Regions from separate parts of the Homo sapiens genome. Here region 1 is linked to region 2. The links are contacts of gene promoters, found by promoter capture Hi-C in human tissues and cell types (Jung and others, 2019). All regions are on one chromosome and are shown on one strand. Each heading gives the region's core, a stretch centred on a gene start or on the middle of the fragment in contact. The rest is flanking DNA. Distances are from core to core; before and after follow the strand shown.

What was found. Contacts are between HindIII fragments. The study calls those that stand out against the background at their distance.
Region 1: a fragment that was not itself captured here is called in contact with the fragment with the promoter of CTNNAL1 in region 2 in 1 of the 25 tissues and cell types used here (lymphoblastoid cells).

Annotation. Positions count from the first base shown.
Region 1 is chr9:107,652,618-107,657,350 of GRCh38, reverse strand. The region is part of intron 8 of LOC105376205 (a long non-coding RNA gene); the gene reads right to left. Among named protein-coding and RNA genes, the nearest start is that of KLF4, 170 kb to the right of the region's middle. The HindIII fragment of the contact is 4,958 bases long and covers 80-4,733 here.
Region 2 is chr9:109,010,083-109,014,966 of GRCh38, reverse strand. It overlaps CTNNAL1 (catenin alpha like 1), which reads left to right and starts at 1,468. Exons shown (of 19, transcript NM_003798.4): 1 at 1,468-1,665. The coding sequence starts at 1,525. RefSeq lists a silencer at 1,226-2,115 and an enhancer at 1,777-2,280. The HindIII fragment of the contact is 6,778 bases long and covers 632-4,884 here.

The DNA of each region.
Region 1 (4,733 bases), core at 1,309-3,808, 1.4 Mb after region 2:
AGCACTCACCAAGCAGCCAATAGTGTGACTAGCATTGATGGAGGCACACCCCACTGCTGATTCTTATTGAGCTCCCTGGTCTTTTTCACACCTCGTGGTGTTGAAGTCACTGGGTTCCCACCATGTGTTAATGCTATTGTTTACTTGAGCCCAGATGCAGAAATTGACATCAATCTCTATTGATATCTCATCAGCCTAGATTGGGCTTATCTTTTCAGCCTCTGAAGAGCTTTGTAGAACCTGTCTTCCAAACAGCACCTTCACTGTTCCCTTAGACTATCAGGAACTCTAAAATGACATGGTCAATTTCTCCCAAGGTTAACCCAGTTCCTCCTTGCAAGATAAATTTATTTCTGTTCCTCTAGTTGCATCCTCTGTGTTCTGGGAGATGAAATGATCTATGTTACACATCAATAGTGTCTATTTTCTCTAATCATTATTGGTAAGAGTATAAGTCAAAACAGCTTCTGGAAGGCAATTGGAGAATGTTTATAAAAATGTTAAATGTAAATAATCTTTAACACCAAAATTACCCTTCTCTCTATATATATTTTTATGCACTGTTTTATATAATTTGACTTTCAGGATGACTTCCTAGGAGGTGGTGGGCTGTATTTGGCTCATGGGCAATAGTTTGCCAACTCCTGATCTACACCTATGTCAAGTGCATTTTTCTTTCCCTACTTGCTGCTTGCCATCTGTTGCGTATACTTTGCATCAGTTAGTTTTTGCTGTATAACAAATAATCCCAAAACTTAGCGTTCAACACAACAACTGTTTATTTGTGTATGATTCTGAGAGTCAACAGTTTGAGTGGGGATCAGCTGTGACAGCTCATGTATTCCATGTGGAATCAACTGGGCCCCCTCATTTACCTGAGATCTGCTGGCCATCAGCAGCCTCAGACATCTGGCTTTCAGCAGGGTGATGGAAGCAACTGGGCTATGTGTCTCTTGTCATCCAGCAGGCTGCCCAGGGCTTATTCATGTGCTGGTGGTTGCAGTGTAACCAAGGGCATCAGGAGAAGGCAATTCTCAACCTGAAGCATTTTTCAAGCCTCTGACTGCATCACATTTGCTACTCTCTTACTGACCAAATAAGTCACATGTTGGAATCATGGCCAAGGCAAGATGGTAGGGCTGGAGAAATAGATGTCACCTCCTGATGAGAGGAATTGCTGTTACATCACACAGGGATATACATACAGGGTGGGGAATAATTTGTGACCATTTTTGCAATCAGACTAATTCCATCAACAATTTCACCTCAGGTCCTTTCACCTTCCAGGAGCTCTGTCAGGCATCTCCTGCTCAGACAAGTGGCCATCCTGCACAGAGGACCGTTCCCCCTCTCCTTGAGATGCTCCTTGGTTGATATCTTTTTGGCCAAGAAGCACTAACCTCAATGCATCTTTTTCAGATACAGAACCGTAATTCTTTTCCTCACCTGCAGCCAATTATTTCTTAACCAGGAAAAGCAATTTGAGCAGCTCAAAGACTCCTCAAAATATTTCTCCACTCTCTGATTTCCCACTTCAAAACTTGTATTTAAATTATTAGCCTGCATTACTTCCCATTCACTGAATTTTCCCTGCTCTCCATGTGTTCATTTTCAGCCCTTTTAATAAATGAAGATTATAAAACTGGGACAGTTCCCATGATAACACATTGGTTTCTTTCAACCTCTTTACTCTCACATGCCGAGGGAACCACCCAGTCAACTGAGGCTCGTTATAATCCTGTCTGTGAAGAGAGATCATGCCTGCTTCACTCACCCTCCTTCCAAAATTGCCTTTCTCTCTCTGTGTGTGTATATATATCTGTATATATATATACATTTTTTTGAGATGGAATCTCACTCTGTTGCCCAGGCTGGAGTGCAGTGGTACAACCTCTGCCTCCGGGGTTCAAGTGATTCTCCTGCCTCAGCCTCCTGAGTAGCTGGGACTACAGGTGCACACCACCACTCCTGGCTAATTTTTGTATTTTTAGTAGAGACAGGGTTTCACCATGTTGGCCAGGATGGTCTCAATCTCCTGACCTCATGATCCACCCACCTCGTCCTCCCAAAGTGTTGGGATTACAGGCCTGAGCCACCACGCCCAGCCCTCTCTATATATTTCTTATTCACCTTCCTTCCCCCAACACCATATATGACATCACTGGCAGTCTTTAAAAGAAAAGACAAATCTTGCTCAACAACCATCATTGATAGAGATATTGCCGGACAGCTGAAGTGTGAGGAAAGCACTACATGTAGAGCCGGAAGGTCCAATCAGGTTCAGAACCAGTGTCCACCGCTATCCATGCAAGCAAACAGAATAATATAGAGAACAATAGAGTGCTCCATAAATGTTCGTTCATTCAAGTTTGTCCGCCATTGTATGCAAAGCACTGTAGAAGGGGCCATACAAGGTTCAGAGATCAGTGAGACCCAGCAGGGAGCTCATAATATGGTGGTGAGTGAAAGCTCACAGCCCTATTTAAATTCTCAAATAAAACAATGATATAAGAAGAAAGAAACTCTTAAACATGCCTCAACTTCTGAGCTTAATAAGGAGAAAATGCATAACAATGACAATGATGTCAAATTCATTCTGTCATCCAGACCATCCCCGACTTTAGCCCCAACCCAAGTCCTGACTTGAGTCCTACGGAATAAACACTCCCATGTCAGTCCACTGAGAGTATGACTTTCCTGCATTTCATCCTTGATAGGCAATATCTCAAAAAGGGCTTGGAAAGTTCAGCTCATCCAAGGAGCAGAGAAAACTAGATAATGAGATTATGGAGTCACAAATGACAACTACTTTCATGAGAGAATATCTGGATAAAGAAAAATAGGCCAGGTGGGGTGGCTCATGTCTGTAATCCCAGCACTTTGAGAGGCTGAGGCAGGCAGATCACTTGAGGCCAGGAGTTCAAGACCAGCCTGGCTAACATGGCGAAACCCAATCTCTACTAAAAATATAAAAACTAGCTGGGCATGGTAGTGAACGCCTGTAATCCCAGCTACTGGGAAGGCTGAGGCACAAGAATCGCTGGAACCCAGGAGGTGGAGGTTGCAGTGAGCCAAGACCGTACCACTGCACTCCAGCCTGGGCAACAGAGCAAGGCTCTGTCTCAAAAAACAAACAAACAAACAAAAAAAAGTGCAGAGAGCAAAGGCGACTATCTTTTTACAAGAAATACAGGCAGTTTCATTTAGGCGAATATCACTTAGTTGTTTCTTTTCATTTCTGAAAAAAAAAATGACAAGAGAAAATTAAAAATAGAGAGTCAGTTTAAATTAGGGTCAATGGTAAACCCAACCTGTTATTTGGGTGAATATAAGCAAATTAACTTAAGCTCTCTGAACTTGGAATGTTTATAAAATGGGGATAATTGTGTTTATAATCTCTGATAATATATCAACACCTAGTCAAGAGCACTACAAAAATAAGCAAATAAATGACAAATGTACTCTACTTCTTGCTCGTTAGTATCCCCAGAGTGGTCTTTAGGAGGAAGAGAGAATGAATTCTGTGCCTAAGATGAGCCAGGTGCTTTCCATGGAACAATCCCATTTCTCAACTCTATTTATCTTCAGTTTTCCAGACTAGGAACACGAGGGTCAGAGAAGTTAGTCTACTGAACCAAGATCACAGCGCTACTAAGTGGCAGGTCTTCCTGACTCCAAAACTAATGCTCTAAGTCACTCTCCAAATAGTGCTAACTATAGCACAGGCTAGAACAGAATATGGCTTTGGTGCCCCATGGGGAATGTTTATCCTGCAGAGACACCTGGATTAGAGGTTGGCTGGCTGTCCCCAGAGAAGGGAATCTGGCAGGGCTGGTGGAAGTGTCTGGCAGGCACCCTGGGGAGCTGTGTTCAGTCTGGCCTCATGCAGTCTGCACCGATGAGCAGGAAGAGGGTGTAGCACAGGCTGTAATGAAGTCCACAGATGCTGGAGGCGTATTGTAAACACCAGTGGGCATGAGTGACCAGGAGGGTGGAGGAACAAGGAGGCTGTGCTGGCAGCTCAGAGTGTGTAGAAATATGGGCAAGAAGTAATGAAAGAAAAACTCCATCCCCAGGGCTTGTTTGGGAACACAGCAGCCCAGACACTCTCTGAACAAGAAGCAAGGGTCTGTAGAGGCACGTGTGGCCCTGAAGCCACAGGGAGAACTCCCGGAAAACACAGATGAGGCAGAAACTTAGGGCTCTGAACTACAAGCCTCCATCCATCAGCGAGTGTCTGCCGAGCACTTCTGGGTACAAGACTGCAGTGAGAGTCAGAGTCTAAGATTTGGTCCCTGTTCGCCAAATAACAGTATTATTAACATCAACTAATTTGAATCCTGATTCCCCTGCATACTAGCTGGATGACTTAGCTAATCACTAACACCTTAAAGCTTTACTTTTCTCATCTGCAAAATGGGTATAATAATTAATATCTCCCACACAGCGCCTTTGTGAAGATTCAATGATATAATGGTTCTTAAAAAAACTGAAACAGAAAAATGACTGGCCATAATGCCCAAGCTAAATCCTGAATAAAGACTGGCTGCTCAGGTTATTATTATTAAACCTCTCTTACAGCCCAGACACCAGATTTGATATTGTCCAGGTACTGGCAGAAAGCAGATGACATACTGGTCTGGGATACTTAAAATAAATTATATTAAAGGGACTATTTGTCAAGGTCTGGGTAGGATTGCATGGAATAACAATGTATTTTGAGACACTCTGGG
Region 2 (4,884 bases), core at 219-2,718:
GGGCGCCTTAAAGAGGTCAAGGGCCCTCAGTGCACAGGGGAAGGTGGCCTTGTGATAGGTAAGGAAGTGGTGAGATGGTTGGCTGAGAAGAATTGGAAGAAAAAGTTGGATTGAGGACCTGTCCTTTTTGAATGAAGAAAAAGAAGCTGAAGCTTGGCTATCTTCAATACCAAAGACAGCTGTGCAGCACTGGTAGATTGATGAAGCTGAAGCTACAGGTTGAAGCACTGTGAAGCGCCTTTCAACGGTGCTTGGGAAAGAGCTTTCTTATGCCTCAGGTTGATGTACCCAGCTCATCAATCTGGTGTTATGGAAGAAGAAATGATCCAGGCCAAGGTGTCCGGGTGGACTGGCCAGCCTCAGATTCTTTTTTACTCTGACAGGTTCTCACTGGCAGATATGGTAGTTGACAAAACATTTTTTCATGCTTCTCAGTCTGTTGCTTAAGTCTGGAATTCCTTCACGGCGTGCATACTGCTGACAACCTCCTTTTGGCCTTGCTCCTGGAGACCTTAGAATAGGAGTCTTCAGCTCCCCGCCCCCATCGTGGGGCTCTGTGCGAGCTCAGAGTTGTGCTTACAGAACTGATTCTTACCCTTCCCCTCAAGTGAGTTGTCAGAAATACACACTTGGTGTTTTCATGCAATGAACAGTTATGAAGAAACTGCTCTGTGCCTGGCACTAGGAAAAAACTTCGAAAAATAGTTTTAAGAAGTAGTGTTGAACAGTAGATGAGGCTTTTTCATGTTTCTTTTAAATTTCTTTTGAATAAGTCTAAACAGTAGTGTGAAAGATATACTGACTTCCTGCCGAATACCCAGATACTCCATTAATGATTGCATTATCAAATGTTTCCCCTTCAATCCAGCTCAAAGTGTTTGTGAGAAATACATGGTGAAAGAATGAGCAGGGTGGAGTGGAAATTGGACCTTCCGGAGAAGCCCCAGGAAGACATTACCACTGGAATTCCCGTCCCAGGGGAAAGGCCCCTCCCAACAGACTTGATTCTGGTTTTGGTCTACCAGTTTCAACCCCAGCACAGCTTCCAGAAGTCTTTGCGGGAATTCAGAGCTGATTTAGGACGAGTCACCTATCGAGAGGACGGGAAGCTTTGCTGGGGACGCTTGTCTGTCCAAGTAAGAGGAGGCCATGTGGCTGTGTGACAGATGTGTTTTGTTTCTCCTCGCCACCCTGGCGAGAAGGTGCCTGGAACCCATGGAAGGGGTCTGAGAAGAGATAAGGGCGGGGCCATGTGGGGGCGGGACCCGGCTTAGGGGGTGGGGTTGCAGGGAGCCCACACCAGGCTGGACTGCGCGGGCGGGGCAGAGGCCGGGGGTGGGCGGGGACATACGGTGACGGGCGTCGGGGACGCAGGGTTGGCGGCGGAGCCCTGGGGGGGCGGGCCCCTGGGGGCGGGGTCTCGGTTGGCGCGAGTGTCCTGTCGCCGCCGCCTCGGGCGGGTGGGCTGACTGGCGGCAGGCTCGCCGCGGCGCGGAGTCCCGGCTGCGGGATAGACCGAGGGCCATGGCCGCCTCTCCCGGACCCGCCGGCGTTGGCGGCGCCGGAGCAGTCTACGGCTCCGGCTCTTCGGGCTTCGCCCTCGACTCGGGACTGGAGATCAAAACTCGCTCGGTGGAGCAGACGCTACTCCCGCTGGTTTCTCAGGTAAAGTGGCGCCTGGCGCGGCCCCTCTTCTCCTTCCCGCCGCGGCCCGCGATGGCGGCCGCCGCTCGCACGACCGGACGGGAGGCAGCCGCTGCCCCACTTTCCGCGCCGGCACTGCGGCGTTCTTGTCGGACCGCCTGTGTGGGGCTCCGGGACGGGCCTCGGCCCGGGCGGCGAGAGACTGGATAATCCAAACTCCGGCGGCAGGGTTGAGTGGACTCGGCAGCAGGGGAGGCTGCGGGGCGGGGGTGCCGGCCTGGGCCTTTGCCCCCAGTACCTGCCTCGGGTCTGCGGCTCCCGGGTGCCCCCGGCCGGGCGATGCCCCCTCCGCGGGGCGAGTGGTTGAGCCCAGCTCCCGAGGCAGAGAGGACCCCCGCGGGGCCCCTCGCTGGTACTTAGGGCCCTCCACGATAACCGACTTTGTCACCAGTTCGCAGCCTGGTCCCGAGCCCGGCTCCTCCGCCTGGGGTATTCCTCCCGGCCTCCCCGCCCAGCGTGCGCTCCCTGATCCTTTGTCCCTCCCCGCCGTAGGTCAGTTCGCTGGCCTCCCATTCATCCCGGCCACCCTACCCCTTCCCCTGAACCTGCTGCTGCTCACTTCTGCCCGCTTCTGTCCGGCCTCGTGGAAGAGTGACGTGGAGACTGTATGACAGTTAATCCAGATGCACACCGTTTTGCCAAGTCCCGTTTGGGATGTGTGCGTTACTGTATTTGCCAATCAGCTAACCGACGCCCTGAGTTTTAGGAAAGTTTTTGTTTCTCTGAGCTGGGTTATATGCAGCTTCAGGGCTAGAATTCCTCACTTAGGTCTGTGGTAAGATGCCAAGCACTGTGGGGAGTGAATTCTGTGCCTTCGGGAGCGCGTTGGCGATGTGTGACTCACATCTAGGTTGTAACCACTTCGTGACTCATACTAGGATTACCAAGATTTTAGAGGTAGAAGAAATCTTAAAGATTATCTGACTAAAAATTCTTTCTTTAGCATCCTTGACACCTGGCCACCAGTACCCTGCTTAAACATGTTCAGTGAAGGGGAGCCTGTAGCTGTTGCATAGAATTCTAAATGCTATTATCTCTTCTCCTGCCCAGCCCTGCGCATATTTGAAAACAGCAGTTACACATGTCCCTGGATTCCTGTTATGCTGGTTAAATAAACATCCCTATTTTCTTCACCTTCGCATGGCTAACGGAGCAGTGATGAATATATCTGACACTCTCCTTCCCTTTTCCTGTGTCTCATTGAGGCTCTGACCAGTGGGAAGGGGCACTGGGATCCCTCAGTAATGTCAGACCCTCCGCTCCTCGCCTATCTCCACTAGCACAACACAACCAAAACGAGAAACACTGGAGCAGTTTTAAGAGGCAGAGAGATAAGAGAGTGATGGAGTTCAAGTTGATAGTATTTTATCCATTTTTTAAATAACACCTATGTAATGCTTACTATGTGGTAGGCCAGGTTCTAAGCACTTTGTAAATATTAACTCATTAATTCTCATAACAATCATGTGAAGTTGGTATATATTCTCGTGGTATGGGAGAGGAAACTGAGGAATACTGAGGTTAAATAATTTGTTGTTAGGGCTTTCAATAAGTGCCAAACTGGGATTTGAATCCAGGTACCCTGGCTCCAGAAGGTTCTCTTTGCTACACTATGCTGTGTCCTCTCTAGAGATTAGAAGCAGTAATGAGATCTAGAGAAAAAGATGGTACATAGTGGAAAAACAAGCTAGAAAGTCATAATCTGGAGAAATGGCAACTTTTCACAGTATCCACTGCTAAAAATGTATCAGTCTTACAGCTCTGCATTGTGTAACTCTGGGGTAAAAGAAGCCAGAGAAGGGTAGGAGAGCAGAGGAAGAAAAGTATAAATCACTGCTGAGAGTTAGAGGTCAATGCCAAAGGGGAAGAATGCCTGCCTTTTTTTTTTTTTCTTTTTCCAGTTAAAGCCTTGTTCAGGGTCACAGCTGAGGTTTTGCATCCCACACATTGTGTATCTACAGCTACATCTCTACCACAACACCATAACTGATATTCCTCATAATTGACTGTCCTTAACAAGAAAAAGTTAAAATCAAGAAGTGTATTAAGCATGGCCAGAATACTCGGTTAACAAAGCAGGGAAGTACAATTTAGAATGATTTTAAAGTTTCAGTGTTAGGAGATTAAAACAGCAGTTCTCCAGAAAACTCATATGTCCACAAGTCTCATTTTCTGAGAATGCTGTATTATTACCCAACTCATGTTTCACCATCTCATCCACAAGGATATTTTAAGCATTTTAAGCAAGGATTTATTGTGTGCTTATTTGTTGCTGTTTTTTGAGGGGCTTATATTCTAGTTGGTAGATAGGTCATGTATAGAACAGCACATGCAAAGTGTCAAATGAACATCATCAATGGTACATACTCTAAAAGCTCAGAGAAGGCATGGATGAGTCAGCAGTGATGTCATGGAGGAGGCAGGGTTTTGAGGTAAACAAGTAGGACTGGCACTATACGGTTTAAAGTAGACAGTTTCTATTCTGGTATCATCTAGCTTCTTCTGACTCTCCAAGTGAAAAGTCCTGGGTTACTGGCCTTATTCTAAGAATGCAAGATTTTATCAATATTAGAAAAATGTGTATAGTTTTTTTTGCATTCACAGATTATAAAAGATGTATTTTCCTAACAATGATGCAGAAAAAGCATTCAACTAAATTCAGCTTCTAATAATGATAAGAAGCACTTAGGGAACTAGTGTTAGGAAAAAGTGTCCTTAACCTGATAGAGTATCTACAGAAAACTTTTACTTAACATCATAGCAACAGTCAAATTTAAAATAAACATTTCCTTTAAAGCCAGAAACCAGAGTGGGGTGCCTGCTATGCTTCTACTCAGCACTGCACTGGAAATTCTAGCCAGTGTAATATGACAAGGAGAAGAAATAAAAGGAATAAATATAGGAAAGGAAAAACCAAAAGTCTCAGTGTGATATAATAACCTATGCAGAAAACTCAAAACAGTCTACAAGTAAATTATAAAAATTAGGAGTGTTGGCAAGTTCACTGAGTGTAGGATACTAAAATCAATTGCATTTTTCTACATTGATAACAAACAAGGCACAGGCGCACTGGCTGGTGCCTGTAATCCCAGCTACTCTAGTCTCAGCTATTCAGGAGGCTAAAAAATGGGAGGATGGCTTGAGCCCAGCAGCTGAGGGCTGCAGTTAGCTGTGATCACG